Regions from separate parts of the Homo sapiens genome. Here regions 2 and 3 are each linked to region 1. The links are contacts of gene promoters, found by promoter capture Hi-C in blood cells and fetal thymus (Javierre and others, 2016). All regions are on one chromosome and are shown on one strand. The core of a region is centred on a gene start or on the middle of the fragment in contact, and the rest is flanking DNA. Distances in the headings are between cores, read along the strand shown.

Region 1 (2,800 bases), core at 199-2,698:
AATGAGAAATAGCTTGGAAATATAACTGAAGAGACATTATCTGTTGTGACTGCAGCTGAAGCACCAACTTTTAACCAGTATTAGCACTGCTTATTTCAGCTCCTATCCTTATCTCAAATAATTCTGCCTTCCTATAACACATGATGGGGACCCCTGGGAGCCGCCAAAAAGGACACTTACTCTGAGGTCTTGCCCAGGTCTCTGCTTCTTCCTCCTTGTTCCCAGATGGCAAACGGACATCCTCATAGTAAGACTGGGCTGCTTTCCACCTGCGCAGCCCCATGGTAAGCACCTGCAGCTCCAGAGGGAATTTATTTTAGTAAAACAAACAAACCTGGAGACCAGGAGATCAATTATCAGTAGTTTGGTAATAATTGAAAACTAGGTCAGAGGCTTCTATTCCTTTTTCCATGAGAGCTGGATATGTGAGGTTGTTCTTGATGAAAGCTGAATTTTTAAATGCAGGTTAATGGCTTTCTTGGAAGCCAGCAAGCAATTAAGGTTTTCTCATCCATGCAGAAATTACAGCTGCAGGGGGCAATTTTTAAAAATTCCTTTGGATTCTTAGAACATACTATATTTATTTATTTTCCCTTAAATTCTGACCTTAAGCTTAAAAATAAGTTTGTTAATACTAACGTTGTTTTCCCTTGAGCTAGCTTTGAACCTCAAATGAATTGCAAACTGCGAAGTGACTGCTGTAGGGCTACTCTTCAGTAAGCTGGTCCAGTTATATGGTAATGAATCCATTTATAAAAAAAATTGTATGTGAGCTGTTTCCAAGGCTATTATAGTATTTCTTTATCAGACTATACATAATTTTACGTTTGTAACATGGTACAGTTCCAACTGAATAGGCAGTAATTTTCTTTATTAGAGTTGCATTTTAGAGTGGTTCATTCATCAGATTTTTATCAAATATATTCTTCGTGTCATTCATTGTGATAGGTTCTGGAATATGATTAAGAAATGGTCCCTGAACTCCAGGGGCTCACAGTCTAGGAAGAAAAAAGACAAATAAAATTATACCAATATAATGAATGCAGTTCCATGGCATATGAAGAGTGTTATAGAAACACAGAGCAAAGATGTAACCCTACCTAGTGTCAAAGAAGACTACACAGAAGATGGTGCATTAGAAGGAAGAGAAAGAATTGGCTGCACCAACAGGAGGAGGGGAAAGGACCTTCTGAGAAAGAGAAGAGTGTGTGCAAAGCAGTGGAGGCCTCAGGGAGGATGGTGGTCTGCTAATACTGAGTTTAGTGTGGTTGTCTTTGTCTTACGTTGCTTGCAGGGAATAAAGCTAGTATTTGCTTTGCTAGCTGGACTGAGCTGGGCTATACTAAGTTGTCTGACCTTTATCCCGTACACAACAGGAACTACAGGAGGTTTTCAAGAAAGGGAGTGAAGTCAGATTCATAGTTGAGAAAAACATTCTAGTAACTAAGTGGTGAATAGAATGAAGAATGGGAGCACTGATTGGAAAGCATTTATAATAGACGGTGGAGGGCAAGTTTTAGGAAGCAGGCAGTGATTGTGATGTCAGAATCAATTTGTATGATATTTAAATAGTCCACCCGGAACTCAGTAAAGCAAAGATTGTTGAAGAGGGTGAGCTTGAGAGACTGGATGGATGTTGATAACATTAATTGTGTGAGGGTGTGATCTCTTTGCTGAGATTTTAAGTACGGTAATTTTCTGATGTGATACCTGTATTCATAGCGTAACCTGTGACCCTATTTGGATAGCCCTTATGCCTCTGTATTATGATTGTCAGTCACTTCCCTGAACTATAAACTTCTTGAGGTCAGAGATAAGTTTTAGTGGTTCTTGTTCCACAGCCTCTGACACAGGGCTTAGTTATGTAATAGGTGCTTGGTAGATTTTGGATGTTTAGACGTGGATGCATCAGCCATCTACTTAAGAATTCCTCTTTCGAATTCTTCCTTTGCACAAGAAGACCTTTGTTTCTTAACCCAAAGAAGACGAGCTCTGTAAGTCCGTTATAATTTTCATTTTATGGCCAAGTTTCTCTGGACTTTCATTTTCCAGAAACTACCTATCTTAGATTTTGCTCTTTCCTTAGTGACAACTCAGTAAAGTTCCTATTGTTCAGAGATTACATGATGAAGTAGATATATACATGTGTGTTTTTTCTTCTTTAAGTTTGGCTATTTGAACCTGTGGCTCTGTGGTGTAAACAGTAATTCCTTTCCAGATTTATTTATTTGGAAGTTTTTGGGTCTTTAAAAATTACTCCTGTGTTTCTGGTCTTGAGTTAAATCCACTTATAATTGCCCTAGGGGTTCCCATGGCATCAGCACAGCTGGAGGTCTGGTGGGCTTTTGTAAATGGCATTTGGAAGAGTGATTCATTTGCCAAAGCATTAGCAATCTTTTGTATTGTTTCCATGTGGTTTTTGTCTAAAGAGACAAGTGCTGGGATTTTATTTATTTAATAAACTTTGTTTGAATGAGCTAATTTCCCCACTGTCCAGAATTACTAAGGGAAGACCTGAGCATTTATTTCAAGGACTTATTCTATCCATTCCTTGCTTCAGTGGGGAGCAGTCACTTCTGTAGCCACCAACTACCTGATAGTCTAGTCTTTTCTGTGATTAAATTATAAAAATAATCTCTTTGTGAACTTGTCTGCTTTTGGTATAAGGTCGCATATTTAAAGAGCAATCTGTGATGAGATATGTTGGCTTCATTTTCTGTTTGTTTTCTAAAGAAAGGAAAAATAGATACATTTCCATTTCAAAATTCTTTTTTTTTTTCTTTTTTTGCGATGGAATCTT
Region 2 (2,800 bases), core at 193-2,692, 170 kb before region 1:
GGTCTTGCCCTGTTGCCTAGGCTGCAGCACAGTGACGCCACCTTGGCCCACAGCTCACTGCAGCCCCGACCTCCTGGGATCAAGCGATCCTTCCATCTCAGCCTTTTGAGTAGCTGGGCCTACAGGTGGGCAACACCACCCCCAGCTAATTTTTTTGCTTTTTTTTTTTTTTTTTTTTTTTTTTTTTTTTTTTGTAGAGATGAGGGTCTTGCCATGTTGCCCAGGCTGGTCTCAAACTCCTGGGCTCAAGCAGTCCTCCTGGCTTGGCCTCCCAAAGTGCTAGGATTACGGGCATGAACCACTGCACCTGACCAGGAAACAATTTTTAGACCTCTACATTATATTTGTTTTTATGATCTTCTGTCTTTCCTACTATGCCATGATCTATATAAGTAAAGTATACATATTTGGACCTTTAAAACTGGATTCACATAGTCCCCGTCTTGCAGAACTATTTTTCACATCATTTGGTCTTGTAGATATGTTACAAAAACAGAAAGGAATTTAATGACATTCTACCTCCTCTCTCTTTTTTCCTCTTTAATAGGTTTCATTTCCAATAGCCCAGCACCAGTGTGTCATTGTCCTCTGATTTAGGAGTCCTTTTTCTGTTTGATTTTGAGCTGACTGGTAGTATGAGCTGTATTGACATAGCATTCTGTTTACTTATGTCTTGGAACTTCTCCTTTTCTTTCCATAGTCACGTATGGGTGTCTGTGCTCAGGAATCAAAGCCTTTGCCTCTTCTTTCTTTTCCTCCACTGTTTTCTCAGTGCCTAAGCATAGGTTATGCCCATAGTATGTATTTAGTAGCTACATTCTTTCAATAATATTTTCATTTGTATGTTTTGCAGATGTTTTTAGAGTGCCTACTATGTGCCTTTACTGAGGTATATGAGGTTCTGAGGATACAGAGATGACAATAACGTAATTTCCTGTGCTTAAGGTGTTTGCTGTTGTTTAGAGGAGAAACATCTCTTTAAAGGAAAAACATTGCGGTATGATATGATCAGTATTCTCACAGAGCTTTACTCACCCATGATACAAGCTTGAGCATAAAATCACCTATCTCACAGAGTTACTGAGTAGGGTAAATGTGATAGTGTGTGGAAAGCACCTAACTGTAGTAGTCTCTGGCACATAGTAGGTTGCCAATCAATGGCAGCCATTATAATTCATAAAGCACAGTGAGTTCACAAAGAAGGAAGAGAACACATTGTCCTGGGCCATTTCAGTAACGAATCTCAAGTGACCTGGCACCAGTGAGGCAGGCTCTACCACGGGCTGAATGGGGACCCCACTTCCTTCTCACCTGTGTGGTGTCCAATGATATGCTAGAATTGAATTCTCAGATGTATCTTTTCAATGACTCATAAATGCCTGTAAGTACCTGGAGGGCAGGTGCTGTGATTAGAAAAATCTTTATTTCCCGGCAGTCTTTGAGAAATCTGTAAATGTCTATTGAGTGCATTAGGTTTTAGAATAAATTCATAGGCTATAGGAGATACTTCTTTGGAATATTAGTGTGATTTTAATTGCTAGGTTTTTGCAAATAAAATAGACAAAGGTCTGAGGAAGGCATCCTTCCATTTGGAATTTGGTACAACTAGCCATCTTTGTCCCACGTTTTGTTTTTGAGGTGGCAGCCTGATCAAATATAGGTTGAACTATAGAATGCAGTTAGCTCTTGAAGCATCTGATAAATGCAGAAACAGAAAAGATGAGGCCAGCAGGGGTCAGTTTAATACCAGTTTAAGTTGCAAGCACAGTGTTTTTTTAATTCTCTGTAAAGTGGAATGATAATAGAAACTGACATGCACAGTCTAAATGTAAGCTTTAACATTTCAAGCTACAGTAGGAGATTGCCAAAAATTGAGGTAGATGTCTTTAACATTCTTTTAAAGAGAGAAATGGAGATTTCACTGTGTTGCACTGGCTGGACTCGAACGCCTGGGCTCAAGCAATCCTCCTGCCTCAGCCTCCCAAGTAGCTACTGTGCCCAGCTTCTCTAAGATTTTTAAGTAGATGATGGAGATTATTAGTGACAGAAGGTAAACTATGGAATGTGGATAGTTTAGCTCTCTTTTCTGTCGCATGGCAGCATAGGACTTTCAGCCAAACCGATTTACTCCACTAACTGGCTTGTACTGACAAGTGCTAGAAAAAGCCTGACTATATCATGTGCATTTCTTTGATGTTCGTTACTTGGTAGACTTTATAAAATAATACTTTGTGCCTATTTTTTTCCTAGCTGGTTATAAAGAAAAGTTAGTTTTAGTTATAGCTTGCATATGAAATGTCAATATTTCCAAGTTACAGTTATAAGAAACTGAGCATGGAATGATTACTTGAGGACATTAAACTTTAAATAAAATCACCTCATGCTACTATATATATTCCTTTGTTATCTTCGTGGATATGAATGGCCTTTTCTTTGCAACCTAATGTATGGCATTCACATTTATAAGACTAGGCTCCCAAATCCTAAGAACATCGTGTGTGCTAAACTCAGAATTCTGCATACTAATCTTACTTACTACGAGTAAGTACTCTTAGCAGATAAAATTGTTTTCTTGATGCCTTAGTACACTTTCCCCCCAAGATACTATAATTGTTCAACTAAAGATTTTTATATAATGTAGAATGATAGACTCTTAGACCTGGAAGACGCCTTAAGGATCATAAAGCCTTGTTTTATAGAGAAGTTGTGTGATGCGTCACAGGCAGGGCTGTCCCTGGCAGAGCAATTCACACTTCTTGGACTGTTCTTCCCCATGGTACTACACTATCGTCTTTTCTCT
Region 3 (2,800 bases), core at 188-2,687, 150 kb before region 1:
TCTCCTGTAGTTTTTTATTTCTTCACAATTATCAGTTGGAAACTAAATTTGTTCATCTCGTAATAAGACTGATTCTGTATGCATCATAGAATTGCAAACATTAAGTAACAAAGTCCATGTAAAGTGTTTAGAACATAGCACTTAGTAAATAGTGGTTATTATTGTTGTCACTATCCCCACTGTCTTTCTTTGTAGATATTTACTTTCACCTTTTCTTCTATAGCAGAGCCACTAACAGGTAATAGAGAAGTAACTAGTTAGATCTTAGGAATTTAAGAAGCACTTCAAGATGTGGACAGAAAAGGATTTGGTTCAGATTGCATACTCTTAGGCTATGGAGATGGTACCTGCAATTCCCATAGAATGTGTATAAAGCACTGTATTGCATTAGAGGCCATGGGATTACAAAAGCTATTCTTTGTAAGACATCTTAGAATGTTGTTGATGTGTGAGAATAAAATCATATTGAAAAAATATAGAAAAGTTACCGTCTTTCATCAGTTCTAAGATGCAGGGTCTCACCATCTTGCCCAGGCTGGTCGTGAACTTCTGGGCTGAAGCCATCCTCCTACCTTGGCTTCCCAAAATGCTGGGATTATAGGTATGAGCCATTGCACCCAGCTAATTGTTTTTGTTTTAATCAATTACCATATTTTTAGCACTGCTGTGGCTTATGCTTTGTTCCTTTTTACTACTACTTGCTTTGAATGATGCTTAAAATGGACCCTTAGGAAGATGACTGTATTGAATTATTATATTCAGAACAATTGATATACTAATTTAAAAAGAATATACAGTCCCAAGTGATAGAATAAACAAGAGTTACTGCTTAGTATACAATAAATTTTGTATTCATTTGATTTCCCTCAGAAGTCTGTATTCGAAATCTGAGTTTCCTTCTATTTATATGTAGGTTACAAAGTTTTTAAAAAGGCAACAAAAAAAAAAACATTTATTTCTGCTCTTCTTAGGCAATATGGCCTTTTGGCTAGAACTCAGAAATTAAAAGCTTGATTTGTTGGTTGTGTAGGCATCTTATATCTAAGGAATTATTTTGGCTTAATTTGGGGATAAAATATTAATTACACCTAATAAGCAGAAATGTAATTATTTAAGACAGTTACTGTCTTACACATTTTTCACTTAAGATATGAAGAAGTGGTTAACGTAATTTCTTCTTCTGGGACTTAAAAGAAATGTTCAAATTAACCACTATTTAGGTTTGATCATGCCTTTGGAAGGAATTGGTATTATCCTTTGAAAATGAAAAGGCATAATTTGTTGAAGGTACATAGAATTGTACAAAAAGAAATCAGTAATTTTCCCATTTTTACTATTAAGTTATATCATAAGCAGCTATTTTGAATGACAGTATGAAAAAGTATGTTTGTGTTTTAAGGAGGCTGTTTTTGAATTAGGAAAGATAAATACGCTGGTATGAAGATCAGCTCATTCAGGAGCAGGCATTTTCCTGCATACTAAGGAGCTTTAAAGGTTAGACAGTAAAAAGAAGGTGATCATTATGTAGTCTGCTCCACCTCATGCCTACCAGAAAATTTATTTCCCAGCCTCCCTAACTTTTCTACTTCAATATACAGCTAACTGTTAATGAGCCCTAACTCTGACCTGGGTATGTGCCCAGGTCACATACATCCTGTCATTTAGTCCTCACCATAATCTCTGAGTGCACAGTAGATGCTGTTAGAATTATCTGTATTTTATAGTACAGAAACAGCCTCAGAAAAGTGAAATAACTTCCCTCAAAATAAGGTAGCTAGTAAATGGCAGAGCTAACATTCAACCTTATCCATGTCTGACTACAAAGTAATCCATCCATTACTTACCTTTTTTCATGGTAAGCTTTTGCTTTTTGGTCAACACTATGCATTGTGCCTTGAGTACATGTACCAACATTGGAAGACCATTCCCATGTGATATTTGTAATAGAATTAGGTATTCAAATCACGCATTCTTGAGACAATTAAAGAATGTAGGATTTATTTACATACAAAGTTGAGAGAATGTGCATCATGCTGTGTCAGGCTTCCTTTCCATGATTCTGTTAGTTTTCAGTGCAGGTATTTGCCACCTGACTTGGGTTTCCTAGATGTCTATAATCAATGAAATATTTTCTCTTTTGAAAAACTATTTTTAAAATACATGTTTTAACAGTGTTGAATTACAAGATGTTTTAAGATAATATAAACCTGGACCCAAATTTCTATGTAAATGTTTATTTTATAGAGACAAGTAAATTAACCAAATAATTCAGTGAATCTTCATTGAGAACCTAATATGACCTAGGTACTGTGCTAGGTGTCAGAGACCGGCTATATGGTTTAGTAGAAAGAGAAATGGTAGACGCTGTGCCAAGCATAGTGCCTGGAACAAGCAGAAAGTCCATAAGAAATATATGTTAACTGAAAGGAAGAACAAAATGGAAACTGTGTCTGTCTGAGTCACCCAAATTAGTAATGTCTGTGAGTTTATTTCCTCATCTGAAATGAAGGGTAATAAAACCTACCTCAGAAGGATTGTTGTCAAGATTAAACGAGTTAAGATATGGGAATATGTCCAGAACTGTGTTTGGTACATATTAGATGTTTAATAATTGTTAGTCATAGTGCGAAAAATAAGTAACACATTATTCCCATTCTCAAGCAATGTCAAGATTTAAAATCGGATTCTTATCCACCATATCGTTAGACTTCAGTTGCCTTGTTCTTCTATTTGCTTTATTCTGCCTGAGCTTCACTAACAATCCACAGGGCTTTTGGACTCTACAAAGAAAACACACACA

What was found. Contacts are between HindIII fragments. The CHiCAGO score rates a contact against its expected background, and 5 or more counts as called.
Region 2: a fragment that was not itself captured here is called in contact with the fragment with the promoter of SMYD3-AS1 in region 1 in 1 of 17 cell types (megakaryocytes); the score reaches 7.8 in megakaryocytes.
Region 3: a fragment that was not itself captured here is called in contact with the fragment with the promoter of SMYD3-AS1 in region 1 in 1 of 17 cell types (megakaryocytes); the score reaches 6.0 in megakaryocytes.

What each region holds. Positions count from the first base shown.
Region 1 is chr1:246,107,274-246,110,073 of GRCh38, reverse strand. SMYD3-AS1 (SMYD3 antisense RNA 1) reads right to left here and starts at 1,448. Exons shown (of 4, transcript NR_183265.1): 1 at 1,357-1,448; 2 at 181-292. All of the region lies in intron 5 of SMYD3 (SET and MYND domain containing 3), which reads left to right. RefSeq lists an enhancer at 1-23. The HindIII fragment of the contact is 2,656 bases long and covers 615-2,800 here.
Region 2 is chr1:246,279,699-246,282,498 of GRCh38, reverse strand. All of the region lies in intron 5 of SMYD3 (SET and MYND domain containing 3), which reads left to right. Among named protein-coding and RNA genes, the nearest start is that of SMYD3-IT1, 41 kb to the left of the region's middle. The HindIII fragment of the contact is 786 bases long and covers 1,050-1,835 here.
Region 3 is chr1:246,262,191-246,264,990 of GRCh38, reverse strand. All of the region lies in intron 5 of SMYD3 (SET and MYND domain containing 3), which reads left to right. Among named protein-coding and RNA genes, the nearest start is that of SMYD3-IT1, 59 kb to the left of the region's middle. The HindIII fragment of the contact is 851 bases long and covers 1,012-1,862 here.